Regions from separate parts of the Homo sapiens genome. Here region 2 is linked to region 1. Evidence: promoter capture Hi-C in 16 types of primary human blood cells and fetal thymus (Javierre and others, 2016). All regions are on one chromosome and are shown on one strand. The core of a region is centred on a gene start or on the middle of the fragment in contact, and the rest is flanking DNA. Distances in the headings are between cores, read along the strand shown.

Region 1 (5,332 bases), core at 525-3,024:
TGGACACAGACACTTCAGCCACGACACACATGAAAGGATAAATGCAGGGCGACAAATAAGGGCAGAGATGAGCCACTGCCAGTATAGAGCTGGAAGGCCACTGAGTTAACTAAAGGGTCCAGATGAGAGGAGGCTTAGTTTCAAAAACTTCCTGGAAAAGTACGTTTTGAGCAGAATTTTTTTTTTTTTTTTTTTGAGACAGAGTCTCGCACTGTCGCCAGGGCTGGTGTGCAGTGGCGCGATCGCGGCTCGCTGCAACCTCCGCCTCCCGGGTTCAAGTGATTCTCCTGCCTCAACCTCCTAAGTAGCTGGGATTACAGGCGCCCACCACCACGCCTGGCTAATTTTTTGTGTTTTTCGTAGAGACGGGGTTTCACTATGTTGGCCAGGCTGATCTCGAACTCCTAACCTCGTGATCTGCCCACCTTGGCCTCCCAAAGTGCTGGGATTACAGGTGTGAGCCAACGCGCCCGGCCTTTGAGCAGAATTTTAAAAGTACGCTACCTGGATTGGGGAAGAGAAAACCCGGGGCTACACGTAGAGGGAAAGTTTAGTGTTGAATCGGAGAATCTGCTTTCCCTCTCGAAGCCTACGATGTGCAGCTCAGATTTACCCAGAGAGGCAAAGAGGAAGCGCTGGAGGTTTCTAGGCAAGCAGGCACCGCCCTGTTTTTATCACACGGAAAATATGTCTCCTCCCGCTAGTCTGTGTCGGGGGCCCCCGCAAGCCCCGCGTTACTCCGCGCGGGCTTGGGGCACTCACACGGAGGACTCGTAGGCCAGGTTGACCAGAAGGCAGTCCGCCAGGCTGAGGTTCATGAAGTCACACATGCCGCGGATCTCGCCGGTGAAGGGCTGGGGCAGGAAGCGCTCCAGCTCCAGGACCACTTTTCCGATTAACACGTGCACCCACTTGGGGACTCTGTCCCTAGAAACAAAAAGCACAAGGGCGTCTGACCCGCTCAGAGGTCGGCGGCGTGCGACTGCGTGTGCACTGCGAGCGGGGCTACATCCTTAGGGCGTGAGGTCTCAGGGCCACTGCTCCCCAGTCAGTGGACCGCCCAGGCGCGGCGTCACTCAATCTGCAGCCTCCCGGGAGTGGGGGGAAGGGGGCGGGGGGAAGGCGGCGGGTAAGAAAACTCCGAATGGGGAGGGCGAGTGAGGCTGGTCCCAAAGGGGCAAGCTTGGAAGGCCCGCGAGGCCCGCAAGGAAGGCGCGGGTTGCCCCTCCTTGGTAGCTATGCAGCCCGGGCGACAACTCGCGCGCCACGCTGACCCGGAATGGCTCAAGGACTGGCGTGCCACGGGTGACACCGAACTTGAAAGCCGAACCTGCCGCGCTGGATTCTCCCCAACCCGGACGCTGCTCAGGGCGGCAGCCAAAACCAGTTCTCCAAGGGTGGCGGGGAGTAAAGCGTCCCCGTTTAAAGCACTCTGAGCAGCGCGCGTTTGACTCCGACCCGCAGGGCCGGTGTCCCCGCAGACCCCGTCCAGGGCCCCAGCTCACCCGATGACTTGCGCCATCGCGGCGCGCACCAAGTCCAAGTCGTAGTGCCGCAGCACGGGCAGCCAGCGCAGCTCGGGGACCGAGTCCAGGCTCACGTTGAAGCGCGGCGCTGCTGGGGGCGAGGCGGCTGACAGCCCGGCCCCGGCCAGCAGCAGCAGCAGCAGGGACGGAAGCCCCGGGCGCGCCTCCCGGTCCGCGGTCCGCATGGCTCGGGCTCCAGCGGCCGCAACTTGGAGACCTGCAGCCGCTGTCGGAGCCCGGGTAAGCCGTGGAGGAGGAGGAGCTGGGGCTGGGCTGCGATCGCTGGAGGTGGGGCCCGCGCACGACCCGCCCGCCCCTGTCACCGGCAAGCCGGAGCGGCGACACCTCCCGTCCCCGCCGCGCATCCACTAGCCCGCCCCGACTCTCCATCGGGCCTGGAGGTCCCTGACCGCGGGGCCGCTAAGGGTTGGGGCTGCCGGCAGCCGGCTTCTCACCAACTGCCGGTTCCAGCGCACCTGCTTGGGCCGAAGGAGTGTAGGCTGCGGCCGGGAGGGGCTGTAAGATTTTCAGTAGCGAAAAGGTGTCAGGAAAGACTTTTCAGTTAAACTTTGTTTGCTTGTTTGTTTGTTTGTTTGAGATGTAGTCTCACTCTATTGCCCAGGCTGGAGTGCGGCGGCGAGATATCCGCTCACTGCCAACTCCGCCTCCTGGGTTCAAGCGATTCTCCTGCCTCAGCCTCTCAAGTAGCTGGGATTACAGGCGTCCACCACCATACCTGGCTAATTTTTGTATTTTTGGTAGGGACAGGGTTTCACCATGTTGGCCAGACTAGTCTCGAATTCCTGACCTAAGGTGATCCACCGGCCTCAGCCTCCCAAAGTGCTGGGATTACAGGCGTGAGCCACCGCGCCTGGCTGGTAAAACATTTTTTTAAAGCTCAAAATTTAGTGAACATTTATCTGCTAAATATTTTTCGCGGACATTATCTCATTTAATCATCAAAACAAGCCAACAGGTAGGTTCCACTAATCCTCGCTTTACTGATGAGGAGTGTGAGGCTTGGAGAGGTGAAGCCATGTACCCGAGGTTACTCTGCTGGTGTGTCTCTGCACTGGCCTCCAAGTAAGGAGGTCTGAATCCACAATCCACCTTCACACCTAAGTTTCTTCACCTTTGAGTTCCCAATGTCTGGGAGACAAACTTAGGAAAATCTTAGTAAGGCTGGGACATTCTTAACGGTTAGCACAGTTGTCTGTGGGTAAAACAGGGTACATGTGTACATGAATAGTAGAAACTAAATGAAAGGGCCGGGCATGGTGGCTTAGGCTTGTAATCCCAGCAGTTTGGGGGGCTGAGGCGGGTGGATCACCTGAGGTCAGAAGTTTGAGACCAGCCTGGCCAACATGGTGAAACCCTGTCTCTACTAAAAATACAAAAATTAGCCGGGCGTGGTGGTGTAATCCCAGCTACTTGGGAGGCTGAACAGGAGAACCTCTTGAACCTGGGAGGCAGAGGTTGCAGTGAGCCGAGATTGTGCCAATGCACTCTAGCCTGAGTGACAAGAGCAAAACTTTGTCTCAAAAAAAAAAAAAAAAAAAAAAAAAAAAAAAAAAAAAAAAAAAAAAACTAAATGCATAGTAGAAACTAAACACATTTTTTTTTTATTTTTTACCAATTTTAGGATGAAGAAATACAACTTTTATAATCAATCACTTGTTTTTAAGGATAACACTTAAAGGAATTACAAAATTTCTTGCCAGACATGGTGGTTCACGCCTGTCATCCCAGCACGTTGGCTGGCTGATCATCTGAGGTCACTTGGTTTAATGAATAGAATCAGAATTGCTGGTGGTTGACTTCCAAGACTAGGTCACAAAAGACACTGTGGGTTTCTCCTTGCTCTCTTGAATTGCTCACTATAGGAAGCCCATTGTCATGTCCTGAGGAAGCCCTATGAAAATGTCCCTTTGTGGCTGGACACAAATCTCAGCACTTGGAGAGTCAGGCAGGAGGACTGCTTGAGCCCAGGAATTGGAGACCAGCCTGGGCAACAGTGAGACCCCATCTCTACAAACAAATAAAAATAAATTAGCCGGGCATGGGGGCATGTATCTTTAGTCCCAGCTACTTGGTAGGCTGAGGTAGGAGGATTACTTGAGCCCAGGAATTTGAGGCTGCAGTGAACTATGATCACGCCACTGTACTCCAGCCTAAATGACAAAGTGAGACCCTGTCTCCAAAAAAGAAGTAAATAAAATTGAAAAAAAAGAAAAAAGAAAGTCCCTTTGTTGAGGAACTGAGCTTCTACCAAGAGCCAGAGAGGAACTGAGGCTTCTTGTCAAGTCATCTGAGTGAGCCATGGTGGAAGTGGACCTTCCTGCCTCAGCTAAGCCACCCCCAAATTCCTAACCCATAGAAACTGTGAAGCAGGCCGGGCATGGTGTCTCACATCTGTAATCCCAGCACTTTGGGAGGCCGAGGCGGGCAGATCACTGGAGGTCAGGAGTTTGAGACCAGCCTGACCAACATGGTGAAACTCCGTCTCTACTAAAAATATAAAAATTAGCTGGGCGTGGTGGCGGGTGCCTGTAATCCTAGCTACTCGGGAGGCTGAGGCAGGAGAATTGCTTGAACCCAGGAGATGGAGGTTGCAGTGAGCCCAGATCGCACCACTGTACTCCAGCCTGGGTGACAGTGAGACTGTCCCCCCCCGCAAAAAAAAGAAACTGTGAAATAATGTTTATCACTTTATGCCACTAAGTTTTGAGGTAATTTGGTATGTGACAAACAGATCATTAATATAGATTTGTTTGGGAACGTAACTGTAGTGCTACCATAACACATGCCTAAAAATGTATTGCTTTGGAACTGGTAGTAGGGAGAAATTGTAATAATTTTGAGCAGAATGTTAGTGAGAGCCTAAAGTTCCTAACAGACTGATGATTAGTAGAAGTCTGATGATTAGTAGAAATCCCTTGAGAAACAAACCATCCTAAGAAAGAAACAGTCTGATGGTCTTGAAGGAGACTGCCAGCACTAGCCACTTCAGAAGTGAGAATGTTATTGGAAACTGGAAGTAAGAGGTTCCTTTGTTATGTAGTGCCAGAATGTTTAACATGATCACCTAGAGGAATGCAGAACACAGAAAAATGTACCTAAGGAACTAGGTACTCTAGCTAGATCTCCAAGCAAAATGTTGAAGTTGCTACCTGGCTTCTTGCTGCTTATAGTCAAATATGAGAGGAAAGAGAGAAGCTAGAGCAAGGACTGTTAAAAAGGATCCAGAAATGGTTTTGAAAATCCTAGGCCCAAAGTATACATGAGAACTTAGTTTATCATAGATATCGCATTGTTTATCTGTGGAGATATCTGCAACATAGGTAATTGATAAAGAATTAGTATCTAGAATGCGTAAAGATCTCCTATGTTTTTATTACTAAAAAAAAAAAAGGAAAACAAAAGGCTATAAAAAGAGGAAAACCCAAATGAACATAAAAATGTGAAGTTATTTCAACCTCTCTAGTAATCAATGAAATGCAAATTAAACCATGATACCATTTCATAAACAAAGGGTTGTCTTAAGTTTCAAAGTCTAATAACATCTTGTTGACATGGATGTAGTAAGATACAAACTTACATGAGTTACTGACGAGAATATAGTGTTAATTCAGTATTGCCTAGTAAAGTTGAAGAATTGCAGACCCTACAAACCCAGTGATTTCATTTTCAGTTTTCTGGATTTCTTTTTTCTTTTTTTGAGACAAAATCTTGCTCTGTCGCCCAGGCTGGAGTGCCGTAGCGTGATCTCAGCTCACTCAACCTCTGCCTCCCAAGTTCAAGCAATT
Region 2 (5,237 bases), core at 1-2,500, 1.1 Mb after region 1:
AAAACATAAACATTTTAGTTCAAACCCCTTCAGAGTCTGAATCCATCCTACCTCCCGAAACACCTTCCACTGTTTTGATACCCAATTGTCAACTTCTGCCAAAAGGATCTGTAACGGAGCCCCCTAGCTCCAGCGGAGGCTCCTCTGTCCTCCTTTCAAATTCCAGTTATTTAATCTAGCCTTTAGAGCACAACTCAAATCTCACCTCCCCCGGATTCCCCCCACCCACCCGCCCCAAGCCCTGGGTAACGTTGCCCTCCCCCGAATTTCACAGCACCGGAGGTTCACCCCATTCATTTGGCATTCAGTCTGCCGTGCAAAGTTAGTAATCCTCCTGGTGTCCCCGGAGAATCGTTCAACCTGAGGGTGGGGGTGTGTCCCCTTCTTTGTGTATTAACACGGGCTCGTAGAGCCTCCAACACGCACTATAGAGTAGCTAATTTGCCGCTGCCACAAAAAAAAGTTACTCGCTGACAGAAAAACTGGCCCGAAAAGGAACACAGTAGTGCCGTTTTCAAGTGGGCAGGTGACGGGTCTGTCTGGGCCGGAGAGGACGAAGAGGGCGGCCCCGAGGTTCCCCGGGCTGGGGGATGCGGGAGGGTGGGTCTCCGGCGAGCAGCGCGCGGCCAAGGGCGCTGCCACGGGGGCGGCGCGGGGGGAGCAGCGGGGCCCCAGCGCGTCGACGCCGGCCGCGGAGACGCGTCGAGCCCCCGCCCCCGCCCCCGCCCCTCACCTTCTCCTCCTCTTCCTCCTCCTCCTCCTCCCCGGCAGAGCTGTAGGCCTCACAGTGGTGACGCGGGGTCATCCGGGGGCCCGTTACCACCTCATTCTCATAGGCGCGCGGAGGCGGTGCGCGCGGGACGACTCGGCCAACTGAGGAGGGAGAAAGGGGAAGCGGATCGGGGGGCGCGGGCGCGGGCGCTGGCGCTCGAGCGGGACGCACGGCTGCGGCCGCTGGGTCGGTCAGCGAATTAGTTCCATGATGACCCCCGGCCTGAGGCCGCCGCCGCTCGAGCCCGGGTTGGGAGGGGGCTCCCTCTCGCCATAGGGCGGCGGGGGCCGGGGAGAGGCGGGGGGTGAGACCGGCTCTGCCCCTGCCCGGGGAAAGCGCCTCCGAGGGGAAATGGTGAAAGGGGGGGAGGGGAGAAAAGAAAAGAAAAAAAAAAAAAGAAAGGGGAAAGGGGGGAAAAATAAGAAAAAGCGAGACAGAGGCGCTGCCGCGTCCGCTCGCGGGGAAGGCTGGGGAGGGAGGGGAAGAGAGGGGAAGGGAGGAAGAAGTGCCGGCTTCCTCGGCTCCGCCCTCGCGGACCGATTCCTAGACTCGCCCACTCCTTGTAAACTACGCGGACTTGGTCTTTCACCCTTCCTGTTCCTCCCCGCCGCCTTCCCGGTCCAACGAAAGTACAGAGAAGTGCGGCCGAAAGGAGACGGGCTGGGGAAGTCGTTGGCACTAGGATGGAAGGAGGGAGGACGTTTTCTCGTGGCTAAGAAAAGCCGAAGGTCCGTGGACTCATTTTCCTTGAAGGAGCGGAAGGGTTGCTTGCAGACCGCACGGTGACGTCAGCGTCTCTGGGCCCCCACTGAGGGGGCGTGCGGTGGCCGGAGAGTGCGCTGCGCATGCGCCTGGGGAAGAAAGAAGCGGCCGAGCGCTGCGCTTGGGGGAGGGGATTTCACGATCCGCTCCTGTGGTCCAGCTTTACAGCAGCTTGGTTTTATCTAGCCCTACTCGTCCCCAGGCTCTTAGAAGGATTCACTGGGAAGGGGCTACTGATCTCTTGGGTGGAGATCTTGCAGATTTGTTGACCTAGCAAAGTATTACGTGTTCTTACCGTTGACATGTAAATAGAATTGCGGTTTTTCTCACTGCCACATTGTGTGGGTGGAGGGAGATTCTAAAGGGTTTTAGGAATCGGAAAATTAGGGAGAATCAAATCATGGGTGCTTAAGGCCTCAGTGAAACACTGTAAATTATACTGCTGACGGCGAGGAACCTGCTTGGCAATGTGGCAAGGGGATTTTATCCACTCAACCAACACGTCTGAGTATTTCCGAATAGGTTTTATTACCAGGTGCTTAAAGAATGTGTGGTGACATAAATGGGTTTTATTTGGGGTTCTGTTAGTACAAACGGTAACTTTTTGCTATTTTGATTGTTTTAATTATTTAAAAATATGTAGTATTACAGAGTTTTGAAAGAGGAAGAGCTAGATCTCAACCATTTATAGAAGTCTCGTTTGTTTTTTCCATTTGTTTTTTATATAGTTATTTTAACTGTCAGTGAAAAAATATGTGTTGAGTTTATTTAGTGGCCAGACTCAGCAAACTGGAAGTAGCCAAGACAGACATAGCTCCTGCCTTCATGGAGTTTACAGTCCAAACAGAGGATAACCATTGAGCTAATTATCACTATGTAAAATTACCAAGTACATTTACTTGTTTACTTGTGCATGTATCCCCTCCCTAGAATATAAGGTCGCAGGCGGCAGGGATCTTGCATGTTTCACCCTCTATCCCTGTGTATAAAAGGCTCTCAATATTTGACCAAGTAAACAATTCTGGTATTAAAACCGTTAAGATGGAAAATCGCCGGCTGCTGTGGAAACGCTTGCCTTTCCGCCTGGTTTGGGATATCAGAGAAGGTTTTTCTGAAGAAGTGACATTTAAGATGAGACTTGAAACCACTGGGCAAAGAATGATACAAGCAGAGGAAGTTATGTGAAAAGGCTCCGAAGCTGAGACGTTCTAAAAATCTCTGAAAGCTAGTGTGGCTGGCCCTCAGACAACTGAGGCAGGATGTGGAAGCAGAGGACAGATGCCATAGAACAGAAGAAGGAATGGGAAGCCCTAGGAGGATTTCAAGTGGGTTGTATCCTTTTTTTTTCTTTTTTTCACTTCATGTAGCCTATTATTATATGGTCTTCATTCAAAAAAGCCACCATTTTTCTGCATGTTACTCTTGAGACTGTAGCATTTCTGCATAATACTATTGAGAGTGTAACATAATTCCATTGTTAGACCATGAAATTGCTTCTGATTTTCACTCCAATAAGAATAATGCAAATTCCACTCCTAAATATATACCCAAGAGAAAGGAAAATATTTGTCCATGCAAAAACTTTTTTACAAACGTTAGCATTATTCATAATAGCCAAAGATGAAACAACCTAAATGTTCATCAGCTGGCGCCTGTATAAATCAAATGTGATACATCTATGTACAATCAAATTTTTATTTTTAAGAGATGGGGTCTGGCTCCGTGGCGCAGATGGGGGTGCCATGAGACTTCCTATGTTGTCCAGGCTGGTCTCAAACTCCTGGCCTCTAGCAATTCTCCCTCCTTAGCCTGAAAGTGATGGGATTACAGGCATGAGCCGTCACACCGACCTATACAATGGAATCTTATTGGGCCATAAAAAGAAAATACTAATACATGCTATAACATGCATAACCTTTGAAAGCAGTATGCTAAATGAAAGAAGCCAGTCACAAAAGACCACATATTATATGATTCCACTTACGTGAATGTCCAGAATAGGCAAATATATAGAGACAGAAAGTAAGGAAGTGGTTGCTTAGGGCTAGGGGCAGGCATGGGATTAGGGGATGATAGTTAAATGATATGGGGGTTTCTTTCTTTTTTTCTTTTCTTTTTTTCTTTTTTTTTTTTTTGGAAACAGGGCCTTGCTCTGTCCCCCAGGCTGCAGGCTGGAGTGCAATGGTGTGAACATGACTCACTGTAGCCTTGACCTCCAGGATCAAGCAATCCTCCTGCCTCAGCCTCCTGTGTAGCTGGAACCACAGGCGCATGCCTCCATGCCCAACTGATTTTTTGAAGGTTTCTTTTTGAGGTGAGAAAAATGTTCTGAGATTGATTGTGTTGATGGTTGCGCAACTGTGAATATTTAGGTTGAGTATTATCCAAAATATTTGAGACCAGAAGTATTTTGAATTTTAAACTTTTTTTTCAGTTTTGGAAATGTTTGCATTAAATTATATACTTACTGGTTGAGCAACCTAGTCTGAAAATCCAAAATGAGCATTTCCTCTGAGTGTCATGTTGGCACTCAAAAAGCTTTGGATTTTGGAGCATTTCAGATTTTTGTATCAGGGATATGCAACCTGTACTAAAAACCATTGAATTGTACACTTTAAATGTATTACTTCTATGGTGTTTGAATTATAATAAAGCTGCTACCCAAAAAATGAAAAACAAAAATAATTCAATTAACATCTTCATAACCTCTTTGGGGCTATTCCTAGGTCCAACAATATTATGTTTTTATGGCTTTTACTGAATACCAGTTGCCAGTTGCAAGGCAGAAGATTAAACCAATTAAAATGTTACCAGGAGTCTTTAAGAGCTCCCATTTAATTATATACTTATCCTTATTAAAACTATCTTACTGCCTATGAGATTGCCAGTGACAATTTAATCTACTATAAATATAATTACAAGTAATTAATAGGTGGGTAAGTAACTAGTTGCAGTTGTCTGAACAAAAAGTATGGATATTTTCTTTCTTTTTTTTTTTTCCTTTGAGACAAGGTCTCACCCTGTCACCCAGGTTGCAGTGGTGCGATCTCAGCTCACTGCAGCCTCAACTTCCTAGGCTCAAGCGATCCTTCCACCTCAGACTTCTAACTAGCTGGGAATACAGGTGTGCACCACCATGCCCAGCTAACTTTTGTATTTTTTGTACAGACGGGGTTTTGTCATGTTGCCCAGGCTGATCTCGAATGCCAGAGCTCAAGCAATCCAGCTACGTCAGCCTCCCAAAGTGCTGGGATGACATGCATGAGCCACTGTGCACAGCCAATATGGACATTCTTGTTCTTCAGTATCCATTTGTAAGACCATACTTTAATTCACTTTTTTTTTTTTTTGAAACAGAGTCTCTCTCTTGTCACCCAGGCTGGAGTGCAATGGTGCAATCTCAGTTCACTGCAACCTCCATATCCCGGGTTTAAGCAATTCTTCTGCCTCAGCCTCCCGAGTAGCTGAGATTACAGGTGTGCCACCGTGCCTGGGTAATTTTTGTATTTTTAGTAGAGACAGTTTCACCATGTTGGCTAGGCTGGTCTCGAACTCCTAACCTCAGGTAGTCCACCTGCCTCGGCCTTCCAAAGTGCTGGGATTACAGGCTTGAGCCACTGCGCCAGGCCATATTTTTTTTAATAACTAATAATTGTTTTTACAATTAATTGTAGTTGTAAAAAATCGAAAGTTTATGAAATTC

Evidence for each region. Contacts are between HindIII fragments. The CHiCAGO score rates a contact against its expected background, and 5 or more counts as called.
Region 2: the fragment with the promoter of CCNI here is called in contact with the fragment with the promoter of NAAA in region 1 in 1 of 17 cell types (fetal thymus); the score reaches 6.0 in fetal thymus.

The regions. Positions count from the first base shown.
Region 1 is chr4:75,939,239-75,944,570 of GRCh38, forward strand. NAAA (N-acylethanolamine acid amidase) reads right to left here and starts at 1,775. Exons shown (of 11, transcript NM_014435.4): 1 at 1,506-1,775; 2 at 763-927. The coding sequence starts at 1,711. RefSeq lists silencers at 1,058-1,127, 1,528-1,997. The HindIII fragment of the contact is 5,903 bases long and covers 1,181-5,332 here.
Region 2 is chr4:77,074,739-77,079,975 of GRCh38, forward strand. It overlaps CCNI (cyclin I), which reads right to left and starts at 1,251. Exons shown (of 7, transcript NM_006835.3): 1 at 734-1,251. RefSeq lists silencers at 579-728, 789-1,138 and enhancers at 1,319-1,548, 1,447-2,417. The HindIII fragment of the contact is 6,616 bases long and covers 1-4,070 here.